5 separate regions of the Homo sapiens genome follow, and regions 2, 3, 4 and 5 are each linked to region 1. Evidence: promoter capture Hi-C in 16 types of primary human blood cells and fetal thymus (Javierre and others, 2016). All regions are on one chromosome and are shown on one strand. Each heading gives the region's core, a stretch centred on a gene start or on the middle of the fragment in contact. The rest is flanking DNA. Distances are from core to core; before and after follow the strand shown. Region 1 holds the start of HAND1 (heart and neural crest derivatives expressed 1). Region 2 has its middle 30 kb from the start of GALNT10. Region 3 overlaps LOC124901118 (a long non-coding RNA gene). Region 4 overlaps LARP1 (La ribonucleoprotein 1, translational regulator). Region 5 overlaps GALNT10 (polypeptide N-acetylgalactosaminyltransferase 10).

What was found. Contacts are between HindIII fragments. The CHiCAGO score rates a contact against its expected background, and 5 or more counts as called.
Region 2: a contact is called between a fragment that was not itself captured here and the fragment with the promoter of HAND1 in region 1, in 2 of 17 cell types (neutrophils and total B cells). The highest score is 6.2, in neutrophils.
Region 3: a contact is called between a fragment that was not itself captured here and the fragment with the promoter of HAND1 in region 1, in 2 of 17 cell types (total B cells and naive B cells). The highest score is 5.5, in total B cells.
Region 4: a fragment that was not itself captured here is called in contact with the fragment with the promoter of HAND1 in region 1 in 1 of 17 cell types (total B cells); the score reaches 6.1 in total B cells.
Region 5: a fragment that was not itself captured here is called in contact with the fragment with the promoter of HAND1 in region 1 in 2 of 17 cell types (total B cells and neutrophils); the score reaches 5.8 in total B cells.

What each region holds. Positions count from the first base shown.
Region 1 is chr5:154,476,323-154,479,947 of GRCh38, reverse strand. HAND1 (heart and neural crest derivatives expressed 1) reads left to right here and starts at 1,721. Exons shown (of 2, transcript NM_004821.3): 1 at 1,721-2,482. The coding sequence starts at 1,940. RefSeq lists enhancers at 1-273, 3,047-3,625. The HindIII fragment of the contact is 6,833 bases long and covers 1-3,625 here.
Region 2 is chr5:154,158,990-154,162,614 of GRCh38, reverse strand. No RefSeq gene overlaps it. Among named protein-coding and RNA genes, the nearest start is that of GALNT10, 30 kb to the left of the region's middle. The HindIII fragment of the contact is 6,524 bases long and covers 1-3,625 here.
Region 3 is chr5:154,175,956-154,179,580 of GRCh38, reverse strand. All of the region lies in intron 1 of LOC124901118 (a long non-coding RNA gene), which reads left to right. Among named protein-coding and RNA genes, the nearest start is that of GALNT10, 13 kb to the left of the region's middle. The HindIII fragment of the contact is 2,643 bases long and covers 536-3,178 here.
Region 4 is chr5:154,758,404-154,762,028 of GRCh38, reverse strand. All of the region lies in intron 1 of LARP1 (La ribonucleoprotein 1, translational regulator), which reads right to left. Among named protein-coding and RNA genes, the nearest start is that of LARP1, 4.8 kb to the right of the region's middle. RefSeq lists an enhancer at 827-936. The HindIII fragment of the contact is 2,588 bases long and covers 710-3,297 here.
Region 5 is chr5:154,199,187-154,202,811 of GRCh38, reverse strand. All of the region lies in intron 1 of GALNT10 (polypeptide N-acetylgalactosaminyltransferase 10), which reads right to left. Among named protein-coding and RNA genes, the nearest start is that of GALNT10, 10 kb to the right of the region's middle. The HindIII fragment of the contact is 4,862 bases long and covers 1-3,625 here.

The sequences.
Region 1 (3,625 bases), core at 472-2,971:
ATGTAACCCCCCACCCTTCATTCACTCTCTTGTCCAGGAGTGGAATTCCACTCATCCACTCCCTACCGGACCTCGAGAAAATCGCTCTTCTTCTCTGGGCTTCACGTTCCATATCTGTTCAAGGAGAGAATGGGCCTTTCTCCCTCTGTCTTTGGACTAGTAACTATGATAGGCACATAGTAGGCATCAATAAATAATTGTTGAATGAATGGGTGAATGATTTGCCTTCTAAAAAGAGCACTCACATTAACTTCTCCTTTCCCCCTCCCCTCGACTTTGCTTTGAAGAGAGGCACACTCCCTCTACCACACCGAGGGAGGGGGCGTTGAGCTGAGAAAGGTTGAGAGAATGAGGGACCCAGGTAGGTGGACATCGGCCAAGAAAGGAACCACAGCGGGAGGTAAGACCGAGAGTCCCCAGCTTGAAGCGTCACCACTCCGGGATTCCCAGATTCCAACGCGAGCCTGGGGAAAGCCCACAGTGGAGAGAGTCCGGCTGGCAGGGAATGGCCCTACCCCCGGGGTGAAATCTCGGAGGGTCGTGCAGCCGAGTCGCGCCTCTGCGCTGATGCGTGAGAGATGCCGGACGTCGCGTTTGCCTGTGCGAGCCTCGCGGATGCTGTGCAGTCTTGGTCCCCTCTGCGTGTGTCTAACGCCGAATGCTGGTGTCTCGAGGTGTGAGCTTCGGGGCCGGTGTCTTTAAAGAACCAAAGATTCTTAAGGAGTGATGATCTGGGTAGAGCGGCCCGACGTAGCCGCGCTCCCAGGTCTCGGTGCGAGTCCTGCGGACAGACCAGAGGAGACCTGCTGGCCAGATGCCCCGGGCCCAAGGCGGACGCCAGACTGTCTCTGCGCCAGCCGGGCTGGCCTTCGGAATGGATCAGGCACCCGGGAGGCCGGAGTGGATCTCAGACCCTCAAGCCGGGAACAAACCCGTCGATGCCCGTGGGCCTGGAGTCCGCCTCCTCCTTCCCGCCCCACCCCTACCCCTGCCTCCGAAAGGCTTCTTCGCTGGTCAGTAGCTGCGTGCCCGTCTGCCTGAGGCTGGGTCAGAATTGGCGGGCTGGTAACGACCCCGTGCACAAGCGGCTCCCAGTCTCTCCAGAAAGGGCCGATGACTAAGGGGTGGGGGTGGGGGCGGAGGGCTGGAAGGTGTTAGGGAAGAACGTTAGCGGCCTATCCTGTCTTCAGCAGCGCCCTCTCATCTTCTAGCTCTGACGCCGAGCAGAGCAGTTGGAGCTCGGGACTGGGAACTGCTGGAATTCCTATTTAGACTTCTAGACAGTCTAGAAACAAGAACCTTTCTTTCCCTGGGCCTCAGTTTCCTTGTCTGTAAAATCAAAAGGCGGGCTCTAGGTGTAGGCCTTCTTTTCGCTTGGTGATTCTGGATTCCTTTCCTTGGATCCGTGGGGAGGGGGTGGCAGCAACAGTCCAGGGCGTTGGCCGTCCTGTGCCTCAAGTACGTAGTCCCCGTGCCCGCCCCCTCAACACCCCCAGCAGCCCGCCCCCCTAAGCCCGCAGAGCAGGGAGCTGAGTGGGAGGGGCAGAGGCGGGGCCGGTTCCCAGTCCCTGCTGGCGGACTAGAGTGGCGCGGGCTGAGCGTAAAACCTGGGATAGCCACTCCCCCTTTTCCTTATCCCCGCCCCCCTGCCATTGGCTCCCGGGAGAGGTTGACATCAAAGCCGCGGTCTTATATAAGCCAGATCCGCAGGGGAGTCCGCAGAAGGGTTAAACAGGTCTTTGGGCTTCGGCGACCTCGCCCGCGGCAGAAACCGGTAAGAAGACAGTGGGCTGCGCGTCTCATTTTCAGCCTTGCCCGGACTCTCCCAAAGCCGGCGCCCAGTAGTGGCTCCAGAGCCCACAGGTGGCCCCCGGCAGTCTCTGGGGCGCATGGAGCGGCGTTAATAGGGCTGGCGGCGCAGGCCAGTAGCCGCTCCAACATGAACCTCGTGGGCAGCTACGCACACCATCACCACCATCACCACCCGCACCCTGCGCACCCCATGCTCCACGAACCCTTCCTCTTCGGTCCGGCCTCGCGCTGTCATCAGGAAAGGCCCTACTTCCAGAGCTGGCTGCTGAGCCCGGCTGACGCTGCCCCGGACTTCCCTGCGGGCGGGCCGCCGCCCGCGGCCGCTGCAGCCGCCACCGCCTATGGTCCTGACGCCAGGCCTGGGCAGAGCCCCGGGCGGCTGGAGGCGCTTGGCGGCCGTCTTGGCCGGCGGAAAGGCTCAGGACCCAAGAAGGAGCGGAGACGCACTGAGAGCATTAACAGCGCATTCGCGGAGTTGCGCGAGTGCATCCCCAACGTGCCGGCCGACACCAAGCTCTCCAAGATCAAGACTCTGCGCCTAGCCACCAGCTACATCGCCTACCTGATGGACGTGCTGGCCAAGGATGCACAGTCTGGCGATCCCGAGGCCTTCAAGGCTGAACTCAAGAAGGCGGATGGCGGCCGTGAGAGCAAGCGGAAAAGGGAGCTGGTGAGTCCTGGGGCTTGCATGCTCCAGCCAAGGGTGCAGGAGCGGTGAGCAGCCTCAGGCCATGCAGGTAGTCGAAGGAGGCTGTGTTGTCCTGTGTCCGATTTGGAAAGGTTGGGAAGAGTTCTGAGATGGTTGGTCACAGCGTGCGATCCTGTGCATGGAGGGAGGCAGATTCGTCATAGAATTCATTTGTAATACGGGAGAGTGTTTGTAATACTGAGTGAATAATCTGTTTGGAGCCTCGGACCCTCCAAAAATGCACACACCACAGGTTTTGCTTCCAATTTGGAGAAGTCCTGATTCATTCCTGGGCTCTCCTGGAAGCCAGGTTAAGAATATGTGTTAAAGTTCTTTACTTTGAGTTTGAATTTATGTGCCCGGGCTCGGTTCCTGTTTTCAAAGGGCCTTTGCTGGACCGGCTAGTCTACTTCCATCATTGTATAAATAGGGAAACTGAGGGCCCAGAGTGGGTCGGGGCAGGAAAAGCACCTATCTGAGGAGTCCAGGGTGGAGGTGAGGTAAAACAGATCGGGTCTTCTACTCAGTCCAGGGCCAGTTCTGGTTCTCCCCATGGACTGGTTCTGAGGACGACTTCAGTGGCTTTGCATGTAAATAAGAGCCACTTCTTTTAGCTTTGGAGAGCGCAGTCTCGTCTTGGCCTTCTTGATCCTCTCCGGTTAGGGTGACACTTCCTGGCACTCGGTCTGGCTGTCCGGGGCTGGGGGCTTCTGAGCGCTGGGTTTTCAGGCTGGCCAATCAGTTTCTCTAGGTTGGGGGGCTTAAGGCCGTAGCGGAGTGGAGCCAGCTGAAGCGCCCCACCTGGTTTATCCAACCTGCGGGGGCCTGTGGTAAACTGACGAAAGCTCATCCAGGGACGAGGGAAAGATAAATAGGCATCGAGTCTCTAAACGGCTGCCCCGGACTGGGGATGGTGCAGGCCGGCTTCTTTCGAGGTGCGGCGCCTCGAAAGAAGTTGTTATTGGGCGGATCCCGGCCCCCACGCGTCGCCGCCTCCTTCAAGTAGCACCGCTTGGTTCCTGCTGAAAGAGCGGGAAGGAGGACGCTAGGCCAGCTCGACTCCCCGCTCTTTTACCTCCGTATCTGAGGCTCCCAGCTCCGGCTTAGGGGGCCCCAAGCCTGCAT
Region 2 (3,625 bases), core at 595-3,094, 320 kb after region 1:
GCCTGGAACTTCTTGCAGTCATGCCTGGGACTTCCCTGGAGCAGATCGCAGGATAGAGAGGCTGTCTGCTCTAATGGGATGTGAACAGTTCTCAGAATCAGGGAAATCATAACATGGAGGACTTATACGTTTGTAATTACCCTCCGTTCTAATTGGGAGCCACACAAGAAGTTTTGATGGGAAAGACTGACCCTGTTGGCTGGGCTTCCTTCCACCCTTCCTTTTCTCCTTCTTCCCTCCTTTCTTCCCTCCTCCCTACTTTTTTCCCTCCTCTCTCTCTTCCTTCTTTCCTCCCTCCCTCCTCCCTTCCTTCCTTCTTTCCTTTCTCATTTATTAAGCATTTGGAATGTACAAGGCAACCAGGGATGTGGTGATTAGAGAAGACATGATTCTTAAGTTTTAAAGGGCTCTCAGTGGCACAGCATAAAGAGGAGAAAAGCAGGCAGCAGAATAATAGGTACAGTGTGATACCATTTATATAAACTACTTTTGTTATTTTTATTTGTTCATGATACATGTATTTAATGGATACTTATAAGTATAAAAACAGATTAGGCAGAAATTATCAAAATTTATATCTGAGGTTCCTGGGGGATGAGGTGAGGAGGAAATGAAACCTGGAATGGGAATCAGGGGATTTCATCTTCAGATGAGTGACATATTGCTTATTTTATTAAAAAAAAAGAAATCTGACAATTTTTTTTGGTTATTTTTACACGGCGGATACATGGTAATTTGGCATATACTATTCTTTTAAAGTTTCTCAGAATCCAAAAAAAAAAAAAAAGCTCAAGAAATTGAAACATTGACTGTAATTCACTGAGACAAGTCACTTTTATAGATATATTCTGCATGAATTTCAGAAGGTGGAAGCAGCAAGGATGATCAGAAGGTGGAACTTAATCCTTCTCTCTCTCGTACCCCAATCCATCTATTCCCCAGTCCATATTTTCAGGAACACATTCCCCAGGATTGATCAAAGAAGCTACTACATACTAAGTCAAATAAAATATGATGCTCATCTTCTAGCTACTACATGCTAAGTCAAATAAAATATGACTCTTACCTTCTAGAGACCTCCAAGAGTCAGGAACTTGGGTTGTTAAGGCAGGAAGGGGCTGAGAATTGGGAGCCAAAGTGAGTAGACTCCTCTGAGCATCTCTGGAAAGGAGGCACTGGCCATCCATGGTCTCTGTCTCCTTAGACACCTTAATTTGTAGGCAGGTGGTATAATGAAAAGAGCACAGGCTTTGGAGTCTGTCAAATCTGGGATAGGGGCTCCATAGTAGCTATGTGACCTTGGGCAAATTACTAAGTCACTGTGTACTTCAGTTTCCTCATCTGTAAAATGAGGACAATAATATTTCCCAAGGTTGCTGCGATGTTTAAATGACCCAGTAGAAATCAAATGACAACAAAGCCCAGCATAGTGTCCAGCAAACAATAGAGCAGCATGGGTTAGTCTCTTCCTTCCCAGGAGTAGGATTTCCTCAGTGGGACATCTGAAATATGGCTCCATCAGTCACACGCAGTAAAAGGCCAGAGTCACCAGGACTTCTTTGTCTTAAAAATCTTCCCCCATGGAGAAAGCAGCAATTTAAGTGGCAAAGATGGTGTAGACCTTGGGCCTAAACAAGTCCCATGCCTAGGAGGAGGCAGGAGTGTCAGGATCACAGAACAACAGAGCTGGAAGAGACATCACCAAACCTCACTGCACATCACCTGGAAAAAATTACTCAGATTCTCTCTCTCTCTCTCTTTTAATTCTTTTTTTCGAGACAGTGTCTCACTCTGTCACCCAGGCTGGAGTGCTGTGGTGAGATCTCTGCTCACTGCAACCTTCGCCTCCTAGGTTCAAGCAATTCTTCTGTCTCAGCCTCCCAAGTAGCTGGGACTACAGGTGTGCGCCACCATGCCCAGCTAGTTTTTTATGTATGTTTAGTAGAGACAGGGTTTCACCATGTTGGTCAGGCTGGTCTCAAACTCTTGACCTCAAGTGATCTGCCCACCTCAGCCTCCCAAAGTGCTGGGATTACAGGCATCAGCCACTGAGCCTGGCCAAATCACTCAGATTCTTAAGCCTCAGATTAGAATGGCCAAGACTGGGGTGCAGAAATCTTTTCTTCTGTGAAAACTCCCCTTAAAATACAAATTAAAAGAATGACATATCATTTTTCATCCATAATATGGCAAACAAAAATTTGAGAACATCAAACATTGTTGGAAAAATGTGTGCTCTTAACCACTGCTGGCGGGTGCAGCCGCTTTGGAGAGCAATTAAAATTGTCCAAACCCTATTGTCTGGGATCCATGTCAGAGACTTTGTACAAAGAGGCCTGCCTGAGGATCCTTGTTGAAGGACTGTTTGAAATAATGGAAAGTTGAGAACAAACGAAAGCAGAGAGGAATGTCTGGATAAACCAGGCTATACCTGTATCTCGCAATACTATCCAGCTAAAAATAATTAGGTGAACCTCTAAATACTGACTTAGAAACAGCTCCAAGAAATATCGTGTTCTAAAAAGGAAATTGCAACATCTTACATACAACATGACTTTTATGGAAAAAGAATAACAAACAGGTAGTACTCTATATATTCCGTGGGTACATCATATCCATAAATGTACAGAAAAAGATCTGTAAAGATACACACTAATCTGTTAACTGGAAGGACAGAGAGATAGTGGAAAAGGATAGTTTCGCTTTATATATAATGTCTTAACTTTTTACCAGGAGAGCATATTTATTTGCTACTTATGCAAAAATTATTGAAACAGCTTTATTGAAGTATGATTGACACATACAATATCTTGTGCACATTTAAAGCATACAATTTGACACATGAACACAGCTGTGAAACTATCACTATAATCAAAATAATAAAGATATTTATCAGTTACACCCAGAAGTTTGCTTATGTGATAAAATTCTGTCCAATGACATGTAAGTGCAATTCTGTGGAGAGACTTCTAGAAAAGGCTTCCTTTCTGTTACAAAGAGACACACAGGAAGAAAAAAACTCTTCTTTTGCTGGAGATTTTTTTTCCCTGAGTGATGCCTGGAATAGTGTGAGCCAGCTTATGACTCAGGGGAAAACAGAGTCAACTTGGGAGCAAAACCAACACACATAAGGATGGTGGAGGGAGAAAGTGGAAAGAACCTGGGTCCCTGATAATATTGCTGAGCCACTGAATTAATTAACCTTGGAGGTACCAGGTACCCTCCTTTGGAACTTCTGGTTAAAGAAATGGAATAAAATGTCTATATTGTTTAAACGCATTTGAGTTGGGTTTTCTGTTACTTACTTATAGCTAAAAGCAACCAAAGAGATGTGTTTTGAGAATTAAGGGAGAGCTGGTATCCTGGCTTTGGAAAGGAAGAAAGTCAGAGGTTAAGCAGAGGTTTGAGGAAATCAGAGATGACCACTAGAGGAACAAACATGCTCAAATAGGATGTGACATGGGAGAGCCAGGAGGGACTGCTAAAACATTTAAGTATTCCTCCTGGGTACCCATGACATCACTTGGGGGGTTGTGCAGTGGACTTTCTGAACTCAAGGGAGAAGGCAGCTTGAATTGTTGTTATTTGGGCATTGAAGAAAAGTGAGATCCTTGATGATTAAGGA
Region 3 (3,625 bases), core at 608-3,107, 300 kb after region 1:
TAGTGGCTTCTTCCAGCGGATTGTTGCGAGCTGGATGTGAGCCCCACCGTGAGGCGTGTATTGGACCTCTTGACTCGGCTCCTCCGCACCTTCTCCCCACCCCAGGGAGGCGGTGTAGACTACATCAGTGGGCTTCCTTGCTCTATGTTTTCCTGTTGGGTTTAGCCCTTGAGGAGCCAGGGCAGGATTTCAGAGGGAGGGAGAAGAGCCAGGTCAGAGCATTTCTTTCCCCCGCCATTCCCTTGCTGCAACTTTGCCGCAGGCTGTCTGTGTCCTCCACAAAAGTCCATGGCTCCCATCGCGCAGGCTTCTTGAAACAGTCCTCCCTTTCTAGATTCCAATAACTGCCCCTTTCCTCACCCTTCAGGGCTAGGGCTGGACATCACACGCTGTTTCTGGCCCCATGGTACTGCCCCGTCCCTCATGGTTACACTATACCCTGCCCCATTTTCCTCCTATTAAACTCTCTTCCAATGTTCCAGTGTGAGAGTGCCATTCGTTTCCTGCAGACCCTAACTCAATCAAGGGAAAAGCTTCTTGAGAACCTGAAAACAGTCCCAACACAGGGGAAAGTGGAGCTGAGAGATCAACCAGTTACCCAAGCCAACCCCTGATGTCATCCATGCCTCCGGGTCAACTCCCCTCCCACATTCAAACAATTACCTAATAATGCTGGTTTTATTGCCTAATAAATTTTAAATGTATCCCTTCCCCTCTAGGCCTATTATATGAGACATATTTCAGGTGCCTGTAAGATGAATCCTTGAGCAGAAACCTGCTACTTATAATGACTCCGTTTTCTACTTTGTAGACAGCCTCCACCCTCATTTCTGGGCTGGTCCTTGACCTATGACTTTCCTGAACTGTCCTAAGGCAAGTTCAAAAGGATGAGCTGAGCCATTCAGATTCTATCTCAGAAATTGGAATCCAGTGACACAGAGGGAAGAAGGCAGCTGGTGGTGGCCTCTGAAGGTGGCAGTTCAGGTAGCACAAGGGTGGAGATTACTCTTGGGCCACACTGAAGGAGAAGATATGGGAAGGCAGAAACCAGGAGTAACAGAGGAAGTGCTTCAGTCAAAAGAAGCCAGTGCAGCCCAAGTATGGGAGGCAGGGATGCTGAGAGAGAAAACTGAAAGAGAATCACCTTGCCTCCTGGTTTTCCAGTTCCAGTTCTGGTTTCTGGGATGCCTGACTAGACTGAAGCCCCTGCCTTGGAGTTTACGCCTTCCCTGACGTTATGAGTGACTCTGTCACTTACGACCAAAGGAGCCCTGGCCTTGATACTTGATACTCTTGACTCAAAGTCCAAGTTGTAGCCATTACCATCTCTCGCTTGAATTGTTGTATCTCTCACTCCTAACTCCTCTGCCATTTCTGTCCTGCATTCCCTAACATTCATCCTCTCCACTGGAGTGACCATTCTGGGATGCCAACTTGCCATGTTGCTTCCCTCTGGAGGTTTATTGTCCTCACAGTAAAGTCCGAGTTGCTGGCCTTACACTTTATACAAAACTGCTAGTCGCTCATTACCTTAATAATGCTATTTCTCACCCCCATGCCTTTGCTCATGCTGTTTCCTCCTCCAGGAATACCCTTCACATCCTCTTGTACTGATGAATTCTTACTCAGCTTCAATGCCATCTCCTCTTCCATCACTTCTTCACTTTCCCATCCAGTTTGACTAAGAACTCCTTCCTCTTTTTTTCTCATACTACTGTGTATATTCCTATTTTAGCATTATATACTAATAAAGATGAGGGTGATGATGTTGGCTAACATTTATGGACCTCTTATTACATACCAAGTGCTAACTAGCACCTTACAGATGTCTTCTCTTTTAATCCTCATTGAAACCCCATGAAGTAGTTCTTTTATTATTCCTACTTCTCAAAAGAGAAAACTGAAGCAAAGATGTCAGGTGACTTGCCCAAAATCACACAGATAGAATGTGGTTGACTCAGGTCTATTGTTCCTTTCTTTTTTTAAAAAACTAACAGTTTAATTGAGATATAATTCACATGTCATACAATTAATTTACGCATTTAAAGTGTACAAGTCAATGTCTTAATATATTCACAGCTGCGTGCAACCATCAACATAATCAATTTTAGAACATTTTTATCACCACAGAAGAAACTCATACCCATTGATTACTCATTGTTTTAATGCTGCTCTTAGCAGCTGGTGTGGTGCCTAGCACATAGTATCTGTTCGACCAGCACTTGTTGAAGAATGGATAGCTACCATATCTTAGAAGACAGGGAAAGGTGCAAGAGAGAGGCTCTTGAGGCAACGCGTCTGTCATTTCAACATCAATTAAGAGATTTGCCTGATTCTTTTGTTTATTTATTTTATACTATTTTCCTTTCTTTCTTCTTTTTTTTGCTCAGTCACCAGGATGATGACAAGTGACAGTACAGTGGTGTGAACAAGGTTCACTGCAGCCTTGACCTCCTGGGCTCAAGTGATCCCCCTGTCTCAGCCTGTGTAGCTGGGGCTACAGGTGCACGCCACCATGCCTAGCAAATTTTTTGATTTTTTTGTAGAGACAGGGTCTCACTTTGTTGTCCAGGTCATCTCGAACTCCTGGGCTCAAGCAATCCACCTGCCTCAGACTCCTAAAGTGCTGAGATTACAGGTGTGAGCCATTACATCTGGCCCTATTTTTCCTTAGTAACAGCCCCCACTTACTGGTGGAGGTGTGTTGTAGATATAGGAGTCTGCTCTTACCATTTGCTCAGGGTTTTTTTACATCTCTGTGGCCCCAGGGAATTTCTCATCCTCACATTTGAGTTCTGGGATATTGCTGGTGATAATCTAGGTGCTGGGTATTTGATTTTGATTTTCAGTGGGAGAGAGTAAAGCCAGATTGCTTCTACTCCACCATTTTGGTGACATCACTCTCTACCACTGATTAAGTATTTTTTATGTGTGAAACCTTACAGTGTGTGATCTGTATATATTATTAGCTTATTAAGCAACAAAACCTGGAGATAGATATTATTGTATCCATAACACAAATGAGGAAACCAAATGTATTAGTTCATTTATGTTACCATAACAGAATACCGGAGACTGGGTATCTGTGAAGAAAATAGGTTTACTTTGGCTCAGGGTTCTGCAGGCTGTACAGGAAGTGTGGTGCTGGCATTCATTCCTAGTGAGGCCTCAGAAAGCTTTCAAACGTGGTAGAAGGGAAGGGGAGCTGGTGTGTCACTTGGCAAGAGAGGGAGCAAGAGAGAGAGGAAGGAGGAGCCAGGCTCTTTAAACAGCCAGCTCTCTTGTGAACTCCTAACCATGGGGAGGGCACCAATCCATTCATGAGAGATCTGCCCCCACTAGGCACACCTCCAGCATTGGAGGCCATATTTTTCTTTTTCTTTTTCTTTTCTTTTTCTTTTTTTTTTTGAGACAGAGTCTCGCTCTGTCACCAGGCTGGAGTGCAGTGGTGCGATCTCTGTTCACTGCAATCTCCTCATCCCGGGTTCAAGAGATTCTCCTGCCTCGGCCTCCTGAGTAGCTGGGACTACAGGCACCTGCCACCATGCCCGGCTAATTTTTTGTATTTTTAGTAGAGATGGGGTTTCACCATGTTGGCCAAGATGTTCTCAATCTCCTGACCTCG
Region 4 (3,625 bases), core at 754-3,253, 280 kb before region 1:
ACCTCATGATCCGCCCGCCTCGGCCTTCCAAAGTGCTAGGATTACAGGTGTGAACCCCCGCGCCCAGCAGGACTTTTTCAATTCATGAACTGTACTGCCCCATACTCAACAGCAATTTGACGCTCTAAACAACCTCAGCACCGGGATTAGCCCCATTCTGTGAATAAGGAAAACAGGTTAGACAAACAATCTAAGGTCACAAAGTGAGAGCAGAGAGAAGTACCCTGCCCATGTTCTAATTTAAATCCCATCACCTTCTCCCTTCACATTGATGTGCTGTTTCCCATGTTTTCACCAGCGAGGTACCAAAACTTACTTCCTTTCTTGAATCCCAGGCAAGGTAAGGCCATCCTCTCTCCTGGCCACTCCCTTAGATCACTCTGGACCAGCCAGGGAGGTTTTTGAGTCTGGACTGAGGCACCTGCTGAACCTCCAGTGGCCCCAACACCCTAATTACTCCCTTTGAGCTGTCTTGGGTTTTGCAAACAGGGGAACTCCCATCTGCCAAGCTCTCCATCTTAAAGAGGTTTTGTAGTTTCAGGCCGGCTGCTCCTCCTCCTCCTCCCACCCTGCCCACCTCCCAGAAAAGAGAATGGGTGCTCAGTAACAGCTATTAAGATTGCTTACTCCAGTTCAGGTCCCACTATAGACAGTGGGTGGGTCAGCAGAAAGACCCCGACCCTCAGGAGGTTCAGAGTTCAAGAAAGCTTGTGACTACCCTCTACCTCCCAAAGGGCCAAAAACCACTTCCTAAAAACCTTCCCCTACCTGGCAGGCACTCACTTCCGGGTTAGTATGAAACTCAAACTACCTGTGCAAAAGGAAAGGGGCCAGGCCAGCTGAAGGCTCCCGATGAAAGCTGCCTCCCACTCTCCCCTTCAAAGGGTGTCCTAATTGTGACCTTTCCTTAGAAGAAGAGAAAGTGATTCACACTATATTGCTTCTTGGCCTTTTGGCTAAGATCAAGTGCACAATAGGAAAAAGCCTTAAGTCTTATGTAATAGACTAACCTAACAGTTCTTAGGTGGGGGTGCACAATATATCCAGTTACACAGTTAAAAACAATCATAATACCATTATCACCCCTGACAAAATAAGATAATTTCTTAACTTAGTCAATTTCCTCAGTTGTCATCAAAATGTCTTTGGACATTTGGTCAAGAATCAAGATCCAAACAAGATCCACAACAATGCACGACTGATGTCTCAACTTTCTTCATCTGTAACAGTTCTTCCCTTTAAAAAATGCCATTTATTTATTGGAAATAGTGTGTCTTGTAGAATTTCTCACATTTAGAAACTGAATAACTGCCTACCTCATGGCTAATTAGTCTGTTCCTGTAGCCCCATTTCCCTATAAACTGGCAGTTGGATCTATGGTTCTGTTAGATTTAGGTTCAGTTTTTATTTGGTGGAGGAAATTTTCAGGCAGTGCTGTGTGCTTTCAGACACTGTAAGGCACATAATGTCTGGCTGCTCCATTATACACCCCCAAGCCATCGACTTAGGCTCCTGAAGCCAGAAGAGTTTCTCCAGCCTCCAGAGAGCTTGGATTCCTAATCACAACGCAAATACAAAGCTACACATATATAAAGCTCTACTTTGGTTTCTTTCTTTTGTGGGGAGGGAGTTTTAGAAAAAAATTTTTGATACTAGAAAAATTTTAAGACATTTAGACCTAGTCTAATACCCTGATTTTACAGACGAAGAAACAGGCACAGAGAAAGCAAAGCGTTTGCCGGTGTCCACATTGCTGGTCATGAGCAGGATCAGAAGTAGCTCCTAGGGCCGGGCGCGGTGGCTCACGCCTGTAATCCCAACCCAAAACTTTGGGAGGCCAAGGCAGGTGGATCACCTGAGGTCGGGAGTTTGAGACCAGCCTGACCAACATGGAGAAACCCCGTTCTACTAAAAATACAAAATTAGCCGGGCATGGTGGCACATGCCTGTAATCCCAGCTACTCTCAAGGCTGAGGCAGGAGAATCGCTTGAACCCGGGAGGTGGAGGTTGCAGTGGGCCGAGATCACACCACTGCACTCCAATCTGGGCGACAGAGCCAGACTGTCTCCAAAAAAACAAACAAACAAACAAACAAACAAACAAACAAACTTAGCCCAGCCTATCTTAAATGCACTCAGAACACTTATATTAGCCTACGGATGGCCATAGCATCTAACATAAAGCCTATTTTAAGCGTTTAATGTCTCATGTAATTAATTTATTGAATACTGTACTGAAAGTGAAAAACCATGGTTGTATGGGTACCTGAAGTACAGTTTCCAATAAATGTGTATCACTTTCCCAACAACATAAAGTCAAAAAATCATAAATTGAACCATCATAAGTTGGGGACTATCTGTACTCTCAAGTCTCACGGCACTACATGTGCACCAGCCACAGCAAACTTTCAGTCCAGTTAGGCTGGCTTTTCCTCATATCCCTGAGAGCACACGTGCAACTCCCCCCAAAGAAAATCTTTACAAAAGGCAAACTAAAAAGTTAAAACTTATTTTTTTAAAATTCATCTCACCACATTCCAAAGCAAAAAATAGCTAATTCTTAAGAGTCAGCAACCTTTAAATTATCCATCCATGCCCTTCATGTCTGTGGATAAGCAAAAGTCAAGTTTTAAGGAGACAGATCCCATACATTTCACGGAGTACTTATATAACACAAGAAAAGGAAAGATCTGCATTCACCAACCCCATCATATTACAGGTAGAGAAAACCAGAGACCCAGGGAAAAGTCCCACCAAGACCCAGAGTAAGTAACAATGTCTACCTGCCAGGCACTGGGCTAAATACACTTATCATAACAATGAATGCTGGTAATACCCCCATGAGGCAGGTGAATCATAAATACCTATTACACAAATTAAGAAGGTGAGGCATAGAATGGTTAAATAACTTGCCCAAGGAAGCACAGCTAACAAGTGGTACAGTGGCATTTGAACCCACTCAGTTTGACCCCAGAATATTCGCTATGTATCATCTCTTAACTTAGACGTCTTGGATCTTATACTTAAAAGGGGTATGGCTAGGATAAGACAAAAATTTTAAACATTTAAAAATACTCTGGGGAGGGAGGGAGATCTAAAAAACCAAAATGCAAATCCCAAGACTTAAAACTACAAATGTAAGACTTGGACGCTTAAACCAGAATACAGAACCCCACAAGAAAGTAGAGATATCACGAAACATATTTTATTACTAGTTACTGCATGTGTCCCTTAAAGAACTAAAACACCAACATTTGAGCCAAAAGTAAGGCTAAAAATAGGCATTTACAGCAAGCTTTGGAAAGCTTTTAGTTTGCTTATGAGGTACTCATTTCTGTAGACTCCCAAAAACATGTGCATCACAGAACACAAAAATTCCCAAGACCACACAGCCACTCCACTAGTGTCACGTTTAAATTTGTCGAAGCTGTAAATAAAACCAGGGCTGGAAAAGCACTTCAGAGATCCACGTAGGCTCCAGAGAAAGGGTCATCATCTAGCCTTACCAGACTGACAACCCAATCATAGAATTCTCTCTCAAAATGCACACAAACCCTAACAACAGGCTTAGAGAGAGAAGCTACTGGATTAACTTGAGTTAGGCTGTCAAAACCTATTCCAAAGG
Region 5 (3,625 bases), core at 1-2,500, 280 kb after region 1:
CGGGAAAGATAGCTCACACCACACCAGTGTCTGACAACCGCCCCGAGGGAGGGGTGGCAGGAAGAGTTATGGGTGGGAAAACTGACTCTGCTCGTGTGCCAAGAAGGTATTATTCCCACTTACAGGTGAGGAAATGGAGGCCAAAAGACGTTAAAAGACTTGCCCAGAGGAGTCAATAAAACATGGTAGCTAAGAGCACAAGTTGGAGAGTCAGAAATCTGAGTTTGAGTCCCACCACTTGTTTCTTGTATAGGCCTGGGAAGTGACTTAAGTTTCCTGAGCCTCAGTTTTCCCATCTGTAAAATGACAACAGTAAGGGCACTCACTCCCTGGGATTACAGTGCTGATGAACTGAGATGGGCACAGTGCATAGCACGCAGTAAGAGCTCAATAAACTAATGATCATTGCTGTTTCTGCTGTGGAGCCAGTGCTCAAGGACAAAGCTAACTCCTGGCCACCACACCGAGCTGTGCCCCACACTCCATGCCCCACTGCCACACCAGGAGCCACCTGGAGCCTCCAAGGGAAGGTTCTTGAAATGGCGGGCAGAGGGACCCCCACTCCTGCCCCGGCAATGAACCCTACTCTCAGAGACATGAGTGGCTATGTTCAGCTGCCTCTGGGGGGACCTAAGCTGTTCTCATCCAGGTTCTCTCTTTTCTAGAAACCTCCTGGGTGCCTGTGAGGTCCCCTCAGACCAGGGAGTGGAGCATGTACCATTTCTGCTGGGAAACCTGTCTTCACTCTCATTTAATGGATCCTAACACTTCCCCAATAATAGGAAGATACATTCTGGGGTTTCCCGACATGCCAGGAAGCACAGGCAGAAAACAAGGTGGATTCTGTACCTACATCATTTCTTTTTTTTTTTTTCTTTTCCTCGAGACGGAATCTTGCTCTGTCACCCAGGCTGGAGTGCAGTGGTGCGATCTCAGCTCACTGCAACCTCCGCCTCCCAGCTTCAAATGATTCTCCTACCTCAGCCTGCTGAGGAGCTGGGATTACAGGAGTGCGCCACTACACCCGGCTAATTTTTGTATTTTTAGTAGAGACGGGGTTTTACCATGTTGGCCAGGCTGGTCTCAAACTCCTGATCTCGTCATCTGCCCATGTTGGTCTCCCAAAGTGCTGGGATTACAGGTGAGAGCCACCACGCCTGGCCTGTACCTACATCATTTCTAACAAATCTAGAGCAGCCCCTGACATGGCTAAAAACAACAACAACAACAACAACAAAACTTTATTAGACAGGGTAGACCTGAAATTCAGATACCTAGAAATGGACAGAAGCAAGGCAAATGGTTTCTTGAGCTGAGATAGAGCAAGAATCATCTAAATATAAACATAAGTGAGTCTGTCAGAGCCTAAGGTTTATATACTTACACTTCCAAGTAATTATTTTTTTTTCTCTGAAAAGTACATTAGTCTTAGAGACAGAAGGATTAGCATCAACTTATTGGCTTTGGTACTAGTCGTGTCACTTATGCTCTTTGAACCTCAGTTTTTGCATCTGTGAAGTGGGGACCGTAAGCCCTGCCCTGCCTCCACCGTGATACTGGTGGAGGCAGAACTGGGAAAAGCCTATGGGAATTTGCATATCATAAAGGAGGGCTCCCAAAGTCGAATGTCTCCTGCAGCCTGGCCAGTTGTGTGAAAGGGTGAAGTGCCCAGGTTTGAGACCACTAAGTGCAGCAGGGGTGGTGGCCAACTGGAGAGCTAGGGTCTGTCTAGAGGAGACAGCTGTTCCCACATCCAGCAAATTCTTACAAAACTTGAACCTGAACTCAGCAGCTGAACTTTGATTAAAAAACAAAAAAACAAAAACAAAAACAAAAAAAACAGAAATTAGTATAGAATTGTTTTAAAATAGGAAATATTCTCATGGTTAGGTACTGGTAACATATGAACATTTAAAAATTAAAAAACCCAACTATCTATGGGCCATCACTGTTCAAGGCACACAAAACGTATCTCTGGGCTGCATCTGGCCCACAGGCCACCAGTTTGCAACTTCCATTAAAGTATACAGGTAAGGTGATTAAAAATACATAAAGGTCAAAGAAATTAATAAAAGAAGCTCTCTGAATGAAATAGCCATTAAAGTTTATTATTAATAAAATAACCACAAATCCAAATGACAGATCCTGGCTCTCCAAGAACAGAATTACTAACTTTTCACTGAAGTTAGGTACCAAATTTAGAAACTGGTTATTTCACAAATAGGCACACACACACACATACACATTTTAACTCTCAGCAGCTGACTCTGATCAATACTCAGGAGGAAACATGCAAAAAATAACAGTTTTCAGTTGAGAACATACAATGTGCTTTAGCAGCAGGACGTAATTTTCACACACACACCCCTGCCAGATGTTTCCAACCTGTTCCCTCGAAGAAACCCCCTTCCCTCCAGGAGCCCCTGTCGGCCCCTCTGCTCAGCAGCCCGCCTCTCAGAGGAGGCTGACATTTGTAACTCACAAGGGAGACCTACACAAACACACACACACAGAACCCTGGCGAACTGGGCTCGTGAGAGGCTGCCCGAGTGCAGCATCCAGGCGGCACATGGGACTTGCTATAATCCCTGCCCTGGCACGGCTGCCTGGGTATTCAGCTGAAAGAGCTTTCTGGAGCCAACAACAAGAACCAGGCTCATGGGGGTCTCAGTGATAACCTCCCACTGAGGCCTCCGCAAGTCCCTGTGAGCAGGGGCAGACCCACAGACTCGCCCCAGACCATCCAGTCAGTGGCTGGCGCAGATACCGGAAGGAAGCATCCCAGCTGGATTGGAATCCTGTTTCCATCACTTCCTAGCTGCGTGGCCCTGGATATGTTACCTGACCTCTCTGTACCTCAATCCTCACAACTGTTATTTAATTTCATCTAATCATCACCATGACACTAGGAAGTAGTGATGACTTTGCTCATTTTAGGAGAAGGAGCAGGAAGCCCCAGAGGTCAGGCACAGAGCCAGCAAGTGGCAGAGCTGGGCCTGAGGATCAGGTCACATTGGTTCCCAACTCCACACTCTCTCCTCTGCTCTCTCCAGTACAAGGGAGAGGTTTACAGGGTCTCCACAATACTAACCCTTCCCAAGAGACCCCCTAGTTCAGCCCAACACCCACGTAGAGGCACCTACCTCATCCTTGCCCATGGCAGGAAGGCAGAGCACGCATCCTGGAAGAGCAGCAGACTGTGGGCATCAAAGGAAAATAAAGCTCTACCGCCCCAGCCAATCCTCGCAGCCCACAGGAGAGGGATTCCAAAGTGCACCTCCCATCCCTGTCCTGAACTGGAGCCTGATCTGCTTGCATCAGATACAGTGCCACTGCTAAAAGTACCACAGAGCTCCCCTGTGGGTGCTGATTGACAACTTGGGAAGCTGCAGATAAACACACTTCCCAGGAACAGAAGTTCAAGGGCGGGTCCTGAAGCACTCCTGGGGAGAATGGAGTGGGTCCCTGGGGAAAGAGAGGTCTGTCTCCTGTCAGGTGGGTGGAGAGGAGTTCCCTGTTGGACCCTCAGTAGGATTTGTTAAATATGTGATCCTTGGCCAAGCCCAAACCAGCCCCTTCATGCTCTTTGGGCATGGATCCTGGTGTCACCATCCTTAACAGGCTC